Regions from separate parts of the Homo sapiens genome. Here region 2 is linked to region 1. The links are contacts of gene promoters, found by promoter capture Hi-C in blood cells and fetal thymus (Javierre and others, 2016). All regions are on one chromosome and are shown on one strand. The core of a region is centred on a gene start or on the middle of the fragment in contact, and the rest is flanking DNA. Distances in the headings are between cores, read along the strand shown. Region 1 holds the start of FRZB (frizzled related protein). Region 2 overlaps LOC101929976 (a long non-coding RNA gene).

What was found. The method cuts DNA at HindIII sites, captures the fragments that hold promoters and counts their contacts. A CHiCAGO score of 5 or more calls a contact.
Region 2: a contact is called between a fragment that was not itself captured here and the fragment with the promoter of FRZB in region 1, in 1 of 17 cell types (fetal thymus). The highest score is 5.3, in fetal thymus.

What each region holds. Positions count from the first base shown.
Region 1 is chr2:182,864,108-182,868,566 of GRCh38, forward strand. It overlaps FRZB (frizzled related protein), which reads right to left and starts at 2,530. Exons shown (of 6, transcript NM_001463.4): 1 at 1,968-2,530. The coding sequence starts at 2,445. RefSeq lists an enhancer at 1,693-2,661. The HindIII fragment of the contact is 6,424 bases long and covers 1-4,459 here.
Region 2 is chr2:182,666,939-182,671,190 of GRCh38, forward strand. All of the region lies in intron 6 of LOC101929976 (a long non-coding RNA gene), which reads right to left. It also overlaps a transcript of PDE1A not described here. Among named protein-coding and RNA genes, the nearest start is that of DNAJC10, 47 kb to the right of the region's middle. The HindIII fragment of the contact is 3,687 bases long and covers 1-3,402 here.

The DNA of each region.
Region 1 (4,459 bases), core at 1,280-3,779:
ATGTCCTATTTGAGTGCTTCAATGAGGCAACTGTTTCCATGTTTGTTCCACAGTGATTGGTAACTCAGGGACACTTAATGAAACTGCTTCCTATCCATATTGACTATGGCTTTTTGAGAGCCATTAACCTTGCCAAACCTCACTCACTCTAGGTCCACCTCTAAGGGAGGTTTAAGAGCAAGTTTTGTGCTTTACGGGGAGGAATGCATTTCAGCCTGAACCACTGCCACCTCATTCCTAGCCCTTGGCCTGAGAGGAGCACCTGCATTTAACTGATTCTAAGTGCCTGGCAAACCAGAGCGGCAACTGCACTGAGCACTTCCAGACTCTGCAGTCTGTGACTTTAGTGAGTACGAAGCCTCAAGCATGCTCTTTTAGCAAAGATTAATAGCAAATACATTTCTGTGATGATTTTGCACAACTAGCTTTTGGTTCTTGATTAAAATCAAGAAGACAATAGGTATATTCAAAAAGTGATAAACTAAGTGAGGTCACCATTAAAAAGTTCTTGAAATTCTTCTGTTTATTTTTTTTCCTTCAGCTATTTTTACAATTACTTCTCCTTCTCTCACTTTGTTAAATGAGTCAACGTGCACAGAAGGTAATTTTTCCAAATCAATTTCCCGATAACTAAGAATTACTACCTGGAAATGGACTGGGGACATGCGCCTAGACTGCGCAAGTTGAAAGAGGAAGGAAAGTTGATGCCCAAGAAATAAACAGATGGAGGCAACCAAGTCAACACATCTAAGAACAGAGTTGTTGGGGGGTGGGGGATGTGGTATGAAAGAGGACCACTCATGAAAAAAAATTGCCTTCTTTATAAAATATATGAAGGGTAAAATTTGAGGTTGGGTTAGTTGGTAGAAGTAATACTGAGTTAGAATTAAATGGACCATAATGAAGTAGGTTTAGTTGGGGTCTTAAAGTTACAAATGTCATAATTAGACTAAACACTAGTGAGAAAACAACTTGTGATTGACTCCATTAAATTTAGAGCTGCAATAAAGTTTTATGGTAGGGAAAGACTGAAATGACTGTGGTTGGTGCACACACGGAAAAGGAGCATGAAATAAGGTATTAAAGACAATTTTTTTTTCAAAACATGAGAGTGGAATAAGGGGTGAGATTTAAAATAACATTACGTGAGTGTATGATAACACGCCTTAAATATAACTCCTTTCATCTGTATGCCACTTATAAAATGACTTGAAGGCATGTGGGCATGTGAAAAGAGCTCAGTAATTTCAGTCTGCCAGCTCTATGGCAAGCCACAGAAGCTAATTAACAGTGCATAGCAATGTTTCACAATTGTTTCATTCTGGAATGGAAGAACAATTTATCTCATTGAAAGGAGGGGGAAATTTAAGGTGAAGGTAATTGCTCAAACTGGATCTTGAGCAAACACATACCCCTAACATCTGTCGGTTAGAGTAAGGTTATTGAAATTATCTTGGCATTTTTAATTAGAAGAAAATGGGGCTTCAGTTTTCTGTTTCCTCCACACAATCTTAACAAGCATCTAAGACACTAAAGATACAGAAACCTGATGACTGAGATTGCCTGAGAATCAGCAAAGAAAACCCAATGATTATAAACACATTTTAAAAGAAAAAGAGCATCACTTTACAAAATGTGGCTACTTGCACATGTAAGGAGTTGAAGTGAAGGATTCCTGTGGAGTAGAAGTGTGATGGGTTTGGAATGCATGGATTGTTTTAGAAAGATCGCCTATTGGAACACAGTGCCAGAGTGCATCAGTTTGGAAGGTGATAAGGTGAGGGTTTTTTTGTTTTTGTTTTTGAAAAAAGAAGAAAGAAGAAGAAGGGTCTTTGATAGAGGAGCAGTTATGGGAGAGATTAAGTGATCCGAAGAGAAAAAAATTAGAGAGTAAAGGCTAGTAACAAGGACTCCAAGAATTGAGGAGGCTGTAGGGTAAGGGAAGGGTGGGCCGTGTCAAAACTCACCAGCTCCGTCCGCAGTAACGATGGCCTCGGGAGAGATGCACACGCCCCTGTCGTACACTGGCAGCTCCTCGCAGGCCAGGTTCTCCGGCCACGAGTGGCGGTACTTGATGAGTATGGGCTCACAGCCCTGCCGGGCCCGCTCGCACACAGACTTACAGGGCTTGATGGGCTCGTGCTGGAAGTCAATGGTGCAGATGGGCGCGTACATGGCACAGAGGAAGAAGAGCAGATCGGGGCTGCAGTGGGTGCCCAGCAGACCTTCGAACTGCTCGATGGCCAGGATGGCGTTGGCCTGAGTGCTGTGGTGCAGGTGGTTGGGCATCTTAGTCATGTTCCAGGGCAGGGACTTGCACAGGGGGATGCGGACGGGCTCACAGGCTGCAGCCCGAGCCCCGGGCACCCGGAGCAGGCAGAGAGCAGCCAGGGCAAGCAGCCCGGCCCGCAGCAGCAGCATCCCTCCCGGGCTGCCGCAGACCATGATCCCGGCAGGATGGGGCAGGGTGCAGCCGCGCAGTGGACGCCAAAAGGCCCGCTCCGCCGTCTCCGCCTCCCCCGCTGCAAGTGGACACAAGGATCTGGGAGCTTCTCCTCCCCCGGCAATCACCGCTTCCTTGGATCAAATTCCCCCAATGGGGTCCCACGAGCTTTACCGAGCTCCAGCCACCGCCCCTGCCGCCCAGGCTGCTCTTTCCCAACGTCTAAGCCTTCGGAAGCAGCAACATCTATTTATTCCTCTCCCTCTGGCAGAAGCATCAGACTTCGCAGATCAGTCAGATAAGAGGGACACGAGAGGAGGCGAGGAAGACATAAAAACAAAAGTAGAATTCAGCTGAGAGCTAGTTGGAGCTCTGGGGTGTCTCCTCCCCTAGATCACGCACACAAAAAGATGCTAAAGAAAGCATTAAATTCCCCAAAGTGAGGAGGACAGAGGGGTTGGGGGGAAGGAGGGAGGAAAAGCTCCTAATGGGAGAGAAGGGTGCAGTAAGAGTTTACAAGTCCTGTGTGGGCTAAGAGCTGCGGCCGCCGCTGCGGCTGCGACCCTGGCTGGCAGGAGGGACGCTCAGGAGGAGCCCCGCAGGGACGTCTGTGCCTCTGCCCGGGCGGCTCTGCACTTTCCTACCTCCCGCCTGAGAGGGAGCTCCGCCCCTGGGGCAGTCTCTGCCCTCCAGTGCCGGCTGCTCTTCCCGAGAATGGAGTGGGCGCCCGGGGAAGAGAAGGCCTGGGAGTCGCAGGCGGTGGGGTGCGAAGCCGTGCGAGTGCGAGACCCCAAGACAGCGCCGAGTCGAGCGCGCCCTCACACTAGGGAACCCGTCTTTGGCCCCAGAAACGAGCCCCTAGCCCCTCACTGAAGAGCCCACCCCAATTCCCTACGGAAAAGTCCCCCTAGTTCCCCACTTGGGAACCCACCCGAGACCCTCCTTCCTGGAGGTATTTCCTTTAAGCAAACTACAGCTTTTCCTCTGCAATCACTGGCTCTGCAGAAAGTCAGACCTGGTGGGGGGAAAGGCTTAAGCAATGTCACTTTGTCCAAGTAGCGGAAAACACAGACCCCTGCGAGCAACGGTGGAGCCATATCAACCCAGAGCTAGTGACTACAGAGGTCTCCATTTTCAATAACTGCGGGGGAGGAGGTGGGGGGAGGATTGCCTTTAAAAAAAAAAAAAAAGAGAGAGAGAAACAAAGAAATGCTGTTCATGACTACAAATAGGCCACCAGAAGCAAGGAAAAGGGGTTTTTTCCTTCTATTCCCGCCCCCCCCACCTAGTGGAATTAGAACTCTTGAGCTTTGCTCCTTAAGGGTTAACGTGGAAACTAACAGCTCTAATACACTTGGACTTTTTTTTTCTGATTTTGCTCACGGATAACATGGCAGATATTATTTGTTATTCTCAGCAACAATTCTGCCCGACACTTAAAAAAAAAGTGTAGGAAAACGACATCACGCAGGTAATAATGATGATTATAACAACAATCAAAACCTTTCCATCCAGATGAGTTCAATCTGGAGGAGAAAATGGAAAACAGATCCCCTCCTGGTCTGCTTCTTCCACTAATGAGCTCCCTCTTCCCCCCACCCCCGCCCCACTCTACCCTTTCAGCTTATATTGTAAATGGAATGACCTGCAGAGGCCTTCACACTATGCCCTCTCAATGGGAAATCACTGAGCAAAAGGATTGCCGAATGTCAGAAAACACAGCCTTCATTGAGAGGAGAAGGAAACAAAACCTGAAACAAAACAGGAAGTCACCTTTGCTCTGCATCACTGAAATATTTCTCTGCTTCAATTTAGCCATCTCTCACCGTCCATAACAAGCAGAGAAATATGTCCCCACTTCAGAGCACATAGTGAGATGCTCATTTTCATTCCCTAGAGTGACTTGACAGCACTTATAAAATGTCAATGCTAACTTGAGTTATGGAATTTTATATCTAAAATGATCATAAACAGCAGTTTGTGACTGCTGTAAATTTTTTTGGAAGGAAGTTTGTT
Region 2 (4,252 bases), core at 309-2,808, 200 kb before region 1:
CCAGTGCACAGTCCTGCTAGTAAGTCACCCTTTGGGAAAGAATCAGGGGAAATTTTACATTCTATATTTGGTTCTGCTGTAGCATCCTTCTTCAAAAGAACCTGGCCTCCCCTTGAATCAGGGGGTTCTAACCTGTGAACTGGTTTAGCTCTAAAAAGTAGGTAGAAATCCATCACTCTCCACTAGGTGGCTCAAGTCAGGTTTTTAGCCACCAGACCTGCAGTTTCTGTTTTATAAATTAAGCAGCTTTTTAGTAGGCTGCTCATCATTTTCATTTCTGGTAACCACATGGTCAATTAGTCACTACCAAAAATTCCTGCAGGTCTAAATAGTCTGATTACCTTTACAGTAATCAGAATCTGCCAGCCTTTATAACAAATATGGCTGCTTTATCTTTGGCAGTTAAGTATTGTCCATTGGCCTCTGCTCTTTCAGGGTCCCATCATCCCTATTGGAATCAGGGAACCCATCACAATGGTGGTATTTCCCACCATCATATGTGGCTTACATATGAGAGCCACTACAGTGCTCTTCAGAGTGTGGGTGTTCCCCTCACTAATGTGTTTCTCACTGCTTTCAAGGGAGTATCCTCTGAGTCTCCTCAGACAATACAGTTGAGGGTAGAGGGACACAGCACCCATATAACAAATCATTCCTGTTCGAAGTCTTTGGAGTCCTAAACTTTTAGATTCCTTTCTGCACATGTGAAGTCAACAAACATTTTCTGTAAAGGACCAGATTGTAAATATTTTAGGCTTTGTGAGTCAACAGTCCAAACAGAAGAGATTCTGTCACAGAGGGATTAGAATTGCTATATCTGGAAAAGACAGAACAATGTCAATGTTCAACTTCCAAAACTGCAACCCAAAATGAGAGATTTTATAAGTTCCAAAATCTCTTTCTTTCAAATGAAAAGTAAACCCTTGGGATCTGAAAATAGGGCTTTATTAGAAGCCATAGTGTAAAGAATACTTGAGATATAATATCAAGGAAGTCCCACCAGAGATATTAGAGTCTGCTAAGGGAAAGGATTGAAGGAGGGAAGTGGGATGGTGCTGATGAAGATGCAACACCCTTCCCAACCCATGGACTTCAGTCAAAGGGAAAAGAGATTCCTAAATGGGTGGAGAAGGAATCCAAAATTATCTGGGAGGCTGCTCTGTCCTTCTCAGTATAGCATGGCTGAGAGGTATTAGTCCATGATCAGAGAGCAGTGAGTATTTAAGAGTAGCCTGAGGTAGCACCAATTCTCCACAGCTGACTTATGATTCCCAAGGGCTCAGAGACGTAGGATTTGTAGGGGTTCTGAGAAGGATGCTGGACAACTAGAGATCTGCAGTCAAGACAGGAGATATGGGGCAGGCACATCACAACAGTGACAAATGGTAGGAACCATGGACTTAGGCAGAGGGCACTTACAGATGAGTGTTATAAGCATACCTCTGCAAGATTAGACCAGACCAATCAACTTCACTTCAGTGGAGACTAGCATGAGACCGAAAAAAAGGCAAAAAAAACCAATAGAGGCCACCAAGAGTAACTGTAAGCCACACACACATGCATACCCCTAGACAGTCTCTAGAAATGGAGGAAATGGAAGAGAGATGTCAGGTTTGAGCCCAAACTGAGGTTCAAGGGGGAGTTGGTGGATGACTGGTAGGTAGTTGAAAGAACACTCAGGGGGCTGCAGTCAGGTGAAATATGGCTTTATTCTCTCTCTGGGCACAAGCCTTTGTCTCGGCTGCCTGCTCCTGCCACAGCCCTTCTCAGCAGCCAGCTCTTCGGCTCCTGCTGCCCCAACGCATACAGCTGCACTCCCTGGAGCACTCACCATTTCCTGGCTCCCCACTGTCTGCCTGCAAGGTGGTTAGCTCTGGCTCTCTCTTACAGAGTCAGCAGCTTTACTCTCTCTCTCTCTCCTGCCTCGTGCGAGCCGGTGGCAGCAGGGCAGTTACACTCCTTACAGACAACAGTGGCTCAGAGCCAAGTATGAGCTTAACAAACAGGTTACATAATGCATGGGACTGTGCACCTGTGCTCCAATCCCACTCATCATGCTGTACTGGATGTTTATCTTGGCCTATTCTTGACCACAGCATATCCATTTTCCTTTCAAGAGGCCTTTGATAGAGGAGAGAAACAGCCTTTCAGGAAGGTTGAACTTTGAATTAACTGTTTCCCCCAAAGAAGCTATTCTAGACTGAAAAGACCAAATAACCTTTAATAAGGCAAGATTAAGTGTACTGACCCTTCACTCACCCCAGACACACTATTTACAGGACTCCAAAGATCATTCCTCAAAACAAAGGAATACTACTTGTTTTGGCCCATTTTGTTTGTTAGGTGTGACTTTTAATACAATAGCCCAGTAGGGTCAGGTGTTGCTTAATTAAAGTGATGGGAATTATTGTTTTGACAAAGTCAAAGACTGTTCCCAGATGTGGGTTTTTAACCCATCTTTTAACAAATATTCCCACCAGTCAAGGAAAATTTGTTGAATTTTGCTATAGTTTCCATGTATTAAAAGTTGGAAGTTTGTTTTGTTTTCTATTTTCAGTCTCTTCTCTGACTTTACCTTTTGTTAAGATCTCACCCTTCTTTAAAACAGCAACCTTCGCTATTTTTCCCTATTAAGCATGTTATTTCTTTCCCATCTTCCTGATTAAAGATTTTTAATGAACTCCCCATCACTCATATTTTCGTCATTAATTCTGTTTATAATCCCTTGTATTTTACATTCTATTCGCACAGCTCTTGACTGCCTTATCATAGGTGGTTCCCACACTTCTTAACTCTCTCCTTTGAATCCACCTTTTACGCCATGTGTATGGTAAACACCCTGATAGCAATGACATAAGCATACCCTGAAAATGCTCCCATATGGCAGACGCACCTGCGTGTGCGTTCTGAGCTAAGGAATCCGGGAGTGGCCAACCCAGAGATTCATTCCTTGTCTATTAGGAACATCTGAGCCCTCGGAGCATCCCATGGGAACATGGGCCACACACGGGCCCATTTGGAGCACATGAAGGTTGCCAGGTGCAGGTCATTAAGGGATGATGGTGTTAAGTAAAAATGCTATATAAACCACATGCTGTTTGCAAGCAGTTTTGGTTTTCCTGGCCAGCTCACTGCCACAGGGCCATGCAGATATCTTGTCCAGCCCACCACCACTGGATTCTCTCTTCCCTGTATATAAGTGCCCAGTACAACCCCATGTCTCGTTTGCTGGCTCTGGGTCTCTTTTTGGCTTCTTGAATCAAAAGGTACTCAGGGGGTTTACCCTACACCTGTTTAGAGAAAAAATTCCAAGGTCTTCAGTTGTTCCCACCTAAACCATTTAACTGTTTTACAAGGACTAGTATTTCTCAATCCTTAATTGCACACTAAAGACTCCTAGGAAGCTTGAAAAATTAATATAGAGTCCTGAGCTCTACAACAGGGCAAGTAAATCAGAATATCTCAGAGTGAGACCCAGCTATCAATAGCTTTTAAAAGCTCTCCAAGCTATTCTCATGTGCAGTCAAGGTTGAGAATCATTTATCTAGAACTAGATCAAGTCAAAGTTGGGCTAGATTGTCCTAGGCCTAGGGCAATGATGCATCACAATCACCTGGGGGATCTTGTTAATATTCCTGGATTTCAGACCAATTGAATTAAAATCTCTAGTGATGGGTGCCGAAGCCTCTTTTTAACAAGCTCTCCAGACATTCTTATTTAGCCAAATGGTCCTGGTGTGGTGACCAGTATTTGGGAAACCAATCACCTACCAATGTTTCTCAAGCTTTAAGGCACATAAGAATCACCTGAGAAATCTTGTTGATGTGGAAGTTTTAATTCAGTAGGACTATGGTAGAACCTGAGAGTCACTATTTCTTTTAGAGGGGAGGCGGGTGGTGGATGGAATCTTGCTCTGTCGTCCTGGCTGGAGTGCAGTGGTGTGATCTCGGCTCACTGCAACCTTTGCCTCCTGGGTTCAAGTGATTCTCCTGCCTCAGCCTCCCGAGTAACTGGTTTTACAGGCGTACACCACCAAGCCTAGCTAATTTTTGTATTTTTAGTAGAGATGGGGTTTCACGATGTTGGCCAGGTTGGTCTCAAACTCCTGACCCCAAGTGATCCGCCCACCTTGGCCTCCCAAAGTGCTGGTATTACAGGCATCCAGCCACTGCGCCCAGCCATACTATTTCTCATAAACTCCCAGGTGATGGTTATGCTGCAAGTCTATGGATCACACTTTTTTTTCTTTTGA